2 separate regions of the Homo sapiens genome follow, and region 1 is linked to region 2. The links are contacts of gene promoters, found by promoter capture Hi-C in human tissues and cell types (Jung and others, 2019). All regions are on one chromosome and are shown on one strand. The core of a region is centred on a gene start or on the middle of the fragment in contact, and the rest is flanking DNA. Distances in the headings are between cores, read along the strand shown.

Evidence for each region. The method cuts DNA at HindIII sites, captures the fragments that hold promoters and counts their contacts. A contact is called where the count stands out against the background at its distance.
Region 1: the fragment with the promoter of EPX here is called in contact with the fragment with the promoter of SCPEP1 in region 2 in 1 of the 25 tissues and cell types used here (small bowel).

What each region holds. Positions count from the first base shown.
Region 1 is chr17:58,190,572-58,194,758 of GRCh38, reverse strand. EPX (eosinophil peroxidase) reads right to left here and starts at 2,033. Exons shown (of 13, transcript NM_000502.6): 1 at 1,837-2,033; 2 at 1,628-1,721; 3 at 1,213-1,388; 4 at 928-1,045; 5 at 667-796. The coding sequence starts at 1,912. The HindIII fragment of the contact is 10,445 bases long and covers 1-4,187 here.
Region 2 is chr17:56,976,040-56,979,927 of GRCh38, reverse strand. It overlaps SCPEP1 (serine carboxypeptidase 1), which reads right to left and starts at 1,797. Exons shown (of 13, transcript NM_021626.3): 1 at 1,693-1,797. The coding sequence starts at 1,768. RefSeq lists a silencer at 1,855-1,914. The HindIII fragment of the contact is 4,443 bases long and covers 1-3,577 here.

The DNA.
Region 1 (4,187 bases), core at 784-3,283, 1.2 Mb before region 2:
GATTCCGGTGGTAAAGAGAAGGAGAGGGGCTAGGTTGACTGGCTCAGACCTCACCAGCTCTCCCAGAGGGGAAGGGAGATCAAATAGATAGATCAATTTGTACACTGATAGCTAACCAGATGATAGCACGGATTCACAGGTGCATGGGCTGGTTGCCAGGTGATGGATAATACACGTAGGGAGTACGGGGTCAGCAGATGGAAGGGTGGATAGAAGAAAATTAATTAATAGATGTTGATAGATGGGTAGATGATAGACTGCTCTATCGATATATCAATAGAAAACTGATGAGTTGATAAATGTGAAATAGATCAATAGATAAAGCCAGATTAAGGTATAGAGCTGTTTATATTTAGCAAGACTTTGACACTAATTTTCTCAGAAAAAACCGTACAACACCGTAATGGTTAGCATGAATAGATCATGTCCTCTATAGCTATTTATACCAAGGACTTCAATATCCACACAGGCTCTACGAGGTAGGTTTTAGGGCCATTTTACAGATGAGGAAACTAAGCCTCAGAAAGCTGTGTTATTTGCCTCAAGTCACTGCACTGGTCAGTGGAAGGGCCTGGGTTCAAGCCCTGCCTGCGTGACTCTGGGCTGTGTTTTACTCCCCGCATTTAAGAGATCAAGCAACCTCCCAAACCCTCAGCCCCAACTCACAAGAGGGAGAAGGAAGCCATTGCGCCTCCTGCTGGGGGTCCAGCCGAAGGGGAGCGACAGCCCATCCTCATACTCGGCGGGCAGCCAGCGAGCCAGAGCCTGGTTGGAGGCCCCTAGCAAGGGTCTCCTCCTGCAGCCATGGGTGGGATAGGTTAGCAGGGGGCAGGGCCTGGAGATGGCTCAGCATGGAGGGAGAGGGTGGGTGCAGGAAGGGAGAGGTCCCCCAGGCAGGGGCAGCCCCTCCTGCCGCCCCGCACGCACTTGTTGTTGCACCGTCCAGTGATGGTGCGGTACTTGTCGCTGCAGCGCTCGGCCTGGTCCCGGAGAGCACAGCCACTGGCCTGGGACAGCAGCCGCAGCTGTGGTTCTGTTAGCACATCTGTGGGAAGGCAAATGGGCAGACCTGAGCTGGCCTGCTCTGTACCTCCCATCCCTTTACCCTCTCTCCTCCCAGCACCCCAAACCTGTGCACCCTGCCTCCCTCTCCTGGATTCCTTCTACTCCAGGCCAGGGTAGGCCCAGCGGGCTCAGTGGGGATCAGAGTACCAGTGACATTGAAGGGTCCGGACCGCTGGGGTTGTAACTTCTCTTCAAGCAGCCCCAAAGCCACATGCATATAATCTGCGGCCCGAACAACTGTCCTGGTGGCTGCTACCGGTTGTTTGAAGTAGGACAGGAGGTCCATGGGGCTGGCTGAACCGCTGCGAAGCCGCTGCTTGATGCTGCCCAGGAGAGGAGGAGTGAGGGCTGGAGAGAGGGTGCAGACCCACCCAGCAGAGACCCAGTCCTGGGGCACAGTCAGGACAGGGCAAGCGGACAGAAGGATGGATGGAAGGGAGGCTCTACCAACAGGAAATGTTCATGGGGTCCAGAGGTGGCTGATGAGTGAGATGAACTTGGCTGGGGCCCATGCCCCTCACTGATCCTCCCAGGCCCATGCAGCCCCCAGACCCAAGTCCACCTCTTCTGGGTCCAATTGTAGGCAGCATCCACCAGCAACTTGGCCTCTGCTATGCAGTCTCGCAGGACCGAGGTCTCCACTGCCCCAGGGGAGGCTGTTCAAAGAGATGGGGACTCAGGGTTCAGCAAGCCACAAGACCCCCTCCAAGACCCAAGTGCTTCCCCTTCCATTTCCCCTCCCTCCTCCTTGCCTGTCTAGGGGACTATTACCTGGGTCAGTGCCCTCACAGGGCTGGGCGAGGACGAGTGTGGCCAGGACCCCTGCCAGGGCTGGGAGCAGATGCATCTCTGCAGCGAGGCTTCACCAGCTGGGAAGTGAGTGACATCCACAGCCTGCACGGGAGGATCCTCTGCTCCCCTCTCACTTTGAGGACCCCCAGCCGACCTCTCACTTCCTCCAGCTCTTCTCTGGACGTAGCTGGGAAGGGACTTTTATAGCCCATTCTAGGGTGGGGGAGGGCAGCTCTGGGCCCTAGAAACCCAGCCTCTTGGGTGGAGTTCTGAAACTTCTCTCTGGTTTTCATGGGAGTTTTGAGACTGAAACCCCCCACCCCACCTCCTACCAGCCTGGGGACATTCTTCCTGCCTACCCTTCACTCCATCCCTACCCTCTACTACCAAGCCCACTGATGCACTTCTCCCAGGGCCCAGAGCAGCACCTGGGACACAGGTGTCGCTCAATGGATATTTGTTGGCTGACAGGAGCGGTGCACCTCAGTCGCCACCGCCTGGCTGCATGGCCTTGGGCAAGCCACTTTCCCTCTCCAGGCCTCAGTTTTCACATCCCTAGAATGAGAGTTGGGCCAGATGATTGGAAGGGTGCCTCTCCTCCTGCAACAGGGCAGAAACTGAATCTGCCTTACTGTTATACACACCCCCCATACCCAGCTCAAAGCCCAGCATTTAGTATGTGCTTAGCAGGTGTTTGTTGAGTGAATGAATGATCTGTGATGAATGATTTGGCCCCTCTCCTTATCCCCTAGCCCTACTCACTCCCTCCAAGGTGCCAGGGAGAGTGTGAGGCTGTGACTGAGGCAGGGCCTGGCAGTGAAATCCCTCATGGGGCCATTTTGGGGACATGGCGAGATGTCACAGGTAAAACACCCAGCCCAGTGAGCTGCTGCAGAGCCTAAAAGTAAGCGCCCGCCATGGGCTTTATTCTCTTGGAGTTTCTTAGGTGCCAATCAGTAGTAGGTTTACTCTGAGAAGTAGATTTCAATTATGAGTTCCTATTGGGCTTGGTGAGAAGTAGCTTCTTTAGAGGCAGTGTGCTGCACCAGGGTCTGATTGGCCTGGATTGAATCCAGCCCTGTCACTAGCTTCGTGACCTTGGGTGAGCCTCCATTTCCACCTTAAGTGCGCCTCCATTTCCACCTTAAGTGCAGAGTGCATCCCAGTCGGCCTTCTGCCAGGGCCCACCCTCTCTGCACCTAAGCCTTCCTCCTGTAGTTCCCTGCCCTGGATGAGCCAGGTTCATCCTTTGCCTCTGACCTCATCCCGGCTGCCTGGAGAGCACATGCTCATCCCTGAGACAGTTCCAGAGTCACCACCACTGTGGCCAGCAGCCTGCGTGTCCTCGCCCCTTCTTCAGGAGGACACGTCCATTCCTTCTTCAGTGTGGACCCCGTGCCTGCTCCAGACTCCCAGGGAGGCTGTTCCAAGTGTCCTTTCTCCTCCCCCACCCCCACACCCTACCGAAACCCTGCCCGGTGCCTTCCACAGCCTCCTCCTCCCACAGCAATGTTACCAGCCCAACCGTTGCTCTTGAAACAACCACCTCTCTTCGGCAACCCCTTTCACAAGCTCCAGTTGATGGCCTGAGCCCTCCTAATCTTATCTCCTTATCTTTAGCGGAGGCCCCTCTCCTGTGACGGGGGGCCTGGGTAGAAGTCACTGTGTAGGAGCTGAAAGCACACTGGGTTCCTTGATGCTGACCCACTGAGTGACTGGGTAAATCACACCCCTCCATGGACCTGTTTCCAAACCTGTGAGATGGGGACAGGGAGCCTCATGGAGGAGAGAGATTATATAAATCACACAGCACTCCTCAGCTGTGTGTCACCTCCCGGCCCTCAGGGAGCCAGGTGCTCCCCGGGTGGAGCCAGGTGGAATGCATGTACCCCAGGTTGGAGCTGGATGGGGTGTATGTACCACAGCTTGGAGCCAGGGTGGGGTGTATATAACCCAGGTTGGAGTTGGAGTAGGGTGTATGTACCCTAGGTTGGAGCCAGGGTGGGGTGTATGTACCATAGCTTGGAGCCAGAGTAGGGTGTATGTAACCCAGGTTGGAGTTGGGGTGGGCTGTATGTACCCTAGGTTGGAGGCAGGGTGGGGTGCATGTACCCCAGGTTGGAGTTGGGGTGGGGTGTATGTAACCCAGGATAGAATTGGGGTGGGATGTATGTACCCCAGGTTGGAGTTGGAGTGGGGTGTATATACCCCAGGTAGGAGTCGGGGTGGGGCGTATGTACCCCTGGTTGGAGTTGGGGTGGGATGTATGTACTCCAGGTTGGAGCTGGGGTATGGTGTATGTAACCCAGGATAGAATTGGAGTGGGATGT
Region 2 (3,888 bases), core at 548-3,047:
ATTAAAAAAATACAAAAATATAGTTAAATATATTTCTAATGTCTGGATGAGGAAAGAATCTAAGCAAACCCCAGAGACTGTACAAAAGAAACAATGATGGAGGTGAGAACAGAAACTTGTTATATTTCTATACAACAAAATTTCTGTAAATCAAAAATAAAAAGGCAAACAGCAAGGAAAGAGCTACAACAAATATGAAAAAGGGCAATTTTCCTAACTCATGTAGATGATTTTTTTAAACTGAACGATATATATCTGTGTATGTGTGTTTAATATACGTATCCTATAATCCCCTAACTCCAATTTTCCTTACTTAACTTTTCTAGCATCCACAAAATATGTTTTAGAAAAGAGTAGGCTAAATACATTTTCTTTGTCACTTTTTGCTAACGTAACAATTTCCAAGTTATAGCATCTTTTTTTTTTTCCTCCAAAACCACTCTGGGAAAAAAAAAAGTAGAGGGGCTGTTGTTAAAAGATGATGGGGGGGATCCCCTCGGTGACTGGAGTTTTCTGCCTTCTATTTCCTCCCTTCTCAAATTTCAAGCCCCATTGGTCAGTAAAAGAACACTGGTCCCAACAGCTAAAGAGACAGGAGTAGAGAGGAAGACAATGAGACAACGTCTTGTAAATAAGAAAGAGCCAGGGTGGTGGCCTGTGTCTGCAGTCCGGGCTACTTGGGATGCTGAAGTAGGAAGATCACTTGAGTCAGGCAGTTCCAGACCAGCCTGGGCAACATAGTGAGACCCTGACTCAAAACAAAACAACAATGAAGATTAAGAAAACCAGAAAGTGTCCTGAGGAGCAAAACAGATGACTAAAACATTACAGACTTAGCTATAAGGTTCTATATACAAGTAACACACGATTATATTGTCCTTGACAATAACAGATAAGGCTGCGCTCCCTTGAGAATGACAGATAAGGCGCAGGTACCTTTTGACCTAACCCCAGGCACTTCTCCCTTGCCTGGCAGTGACTACTGGTAAAATTGGCAGAGCTACTTATTTTACAAAATCTCCCAGACACTCGCCTAAGGGCCAGATGATCCCCATTTTAGAAAAGGAAAACAAAACTGTTCAACAACTTGCCTAAGGTCACAAGGCAAGCTTGTGGCCAGTTCCAATTCTCAGTGCTTGCTTCAGACTAGGAGAGGTTTTGCTGAAAATCAATTTGCAAGTCATCCTATTAAACACAAATCTGTTTTTTGCCAAAAAAGATCGCTGTGGGGGAAGATGTTATCTTGTTTGTTTTGATCAAGAAAAGAAAGGGCCTTATCTCAATGAAATGTCCCATTCGTGGTAGGATGTAAGGGTACTTTTGACCGCAGATTTCAGCTTAAAATAAAACGACCTTATATCCTCATTTAGCAGCCAATCATGGCCTTTGAATCGGGGAAACCTCATTGACCAGCAGTTTCCCCAAATCATACATTTCTGCACACAGCTTCTATCTAGGCGTAGGAGAGAACGGAAGCACTCAGACCACCCAGAGCCAGAAAAGGACAAAAAAAGCACTTTGAATTTTTTAAGGAAAAAAAAAAAAAAGAGTGAGATTCAAAAGCAATATAATTACACAAGGTAAGAACCGGGGAAAAGAGACATGTTTTCAAAAGCACAAACCCAGTAACAAACTCTCACGCCTGGAGAAAAAAGAGGCATGGCAGCTGGTGCGCCTCTTGCTTGAACCTACCTGCGTTCAGGCCCAGCAGCAGCGGCAGCAGCAGCAACCACCGCGGGACGGGAGAGCGCCGCAGTGCCAGCTCCATGACAAGTACCGCACGGCAGCATCAGCAACAGGCTGGACCCGGCGCCCCATCACGTGACGGAGGCGGACGGGGCGGGTCGGGGGCGGGGCCTGCGGGTCGGGGGCGGGGCCTGAATGGGCATGGGGCGGGGCCTGGGCGGACCCGGCAGCTTGCTGAGACCCGCACGCCCTCTGCCCGGCAAGCCCACCAGGACCCCTGCAAATGCGCAGGGGCCGTTCTGTCCGCCTGGCCAGGTTCTCTGTCATTTTAGGGAGAGTATTTCGGAAAGGAGACATTTGATGCAGATGTTGGATTTAGGTTGTGTGACCGGATCGAAATACTAAAGGGAATAACCACCGCCCTTTCTACCCCTCCCATCTCTTCCTTCCCTCAGCAAAAGAACCGACGTTTTCCAACACTGCTACATCTGCGAAGTCAGATTAAGCCAGCTGGTCGTTGGCAAACAGCGGGGTTTCATTTTCAGATATGTATTTTTTAAATTATTTTTCTTTTAAAGTTATGTATGTTATAAACGTTTTGGAAATATGAACAAAAAAGTTATACATAACTATTGTTGGCATTTTTTCCCATAGTCTTTTACGTCATTTTAAAAAACACTAATAAAGATTTTTATTTTTTTTTTCTTTTTTGATAATTTGTCATTAGTATTACTCTGTGTTACGTTATCTTCACAGCAGTCATTTTAAAGAGAGAATCGAGGGTCTGGGGACGGGAAAGGAAGAAAAAGTGGATGACAGAGCTGTTTTCCTCTGTGTGTGTGTGTGTGTGTGTGTGTGTGTCTGTCTGTCTGTCTGAAGGTCATTTTTACGTTAGAGGGTACTGAATAACTCACCTCACAGCTAGGAGACAAGCTACAGCAGGGGCTGTAGGAGAGGCTACTTCTAAATACTGCTTCAAAAGTACATGTAACAAAAAGCAAAAAACAAATCAAAGTACATGTGGCCACTTCTCCTCTTTCCCTGCTCCTTTCTCCCTCCCCTCGCCCTTGACCCCCATAAATGGAAGTGCTTTTTACTCTGCAGCCATTGTCTGGACAGAGCCTTGACCCCGCCCTGCCTGTGAGGTGCCCCTGCACTGAAAGCTGCGGCAGAGAAAAATATGCCGCCGGGTTCTGTCATGCTTTAAGCATGGGATGGTCCCGAATGCATAAAATCCATAATGCCTGGGCAACATATTGAGACCCCCTCTCTACAAAAAATAACAAAAATTAACTGATGTGGTGACACGCGCCTGCTGTCCAAGCTACTCAGAAGGCTGAGGTGGGAGGATCACTTGAGCCCAGGAGCTCCAGGCTGCAGTGAGCAGGTGTTCCATGCCATATGGGAGATACATAAAAGTACATGCTTAGTTAAAAATAAATAACTATCTAGCAAACTTTTCCTGTCTGAAGCTTCCAAGTTGGTCTGTATCACTAGGGCTTGAAATACACTTACCCTTCCACTGCAGTCAGAATTTTAGGGTTTCAATTTTTTTGCCACAAAAATAACACTACAGCCCAGGGCGCAAGGTGGCTCACACCTGTAATCCCAGCACTTTGGGAGGCCGAGGTGGGCAGATTACTTGAGGTCGGGGGTTTGAGACCAGCCTGGCCAACATAGTGAAACCCCATTTCTACAAAAATACAAAAATTAGCTGGGTGTGGTGGCACTTGCTTGTGGTCTTAACTACTCGGGAGGCTAAGGCATGAGAATCGCTTGAACCCAGGAGGTGGAGGTTGCAGTGAGCCAAGATGGTGCCACTGCACTCCAGCCTGGGTGACAGAGTAAGACCCCATCTCACACACGCACAAAAAAATTGTGCATTTTATAATACGCTAATATGACTTCAAAAGGAAAAAATATAAATAAAATGTCACCTCTAGTTAATGATATTCATATTAAAGTGTTTAGGGGAAGGTGTACCAATGTATACAATTTTCTTTGAAATGTATCCAGATGCTGGCACAGTGACCTATGCCTGTAATCCAGCTCTTTGGGAGACCAAGGTGGGATGATTGATTGAGCCTAGAAGTTTGAGACCAGCCTGGACAATATAGTGAGACCATGTCTCTTAAAAAAAAAAAAAGTATCCAGAATATAAGATGGATTGATGGATAGGATGGAAAGAAGGTTGGATACATG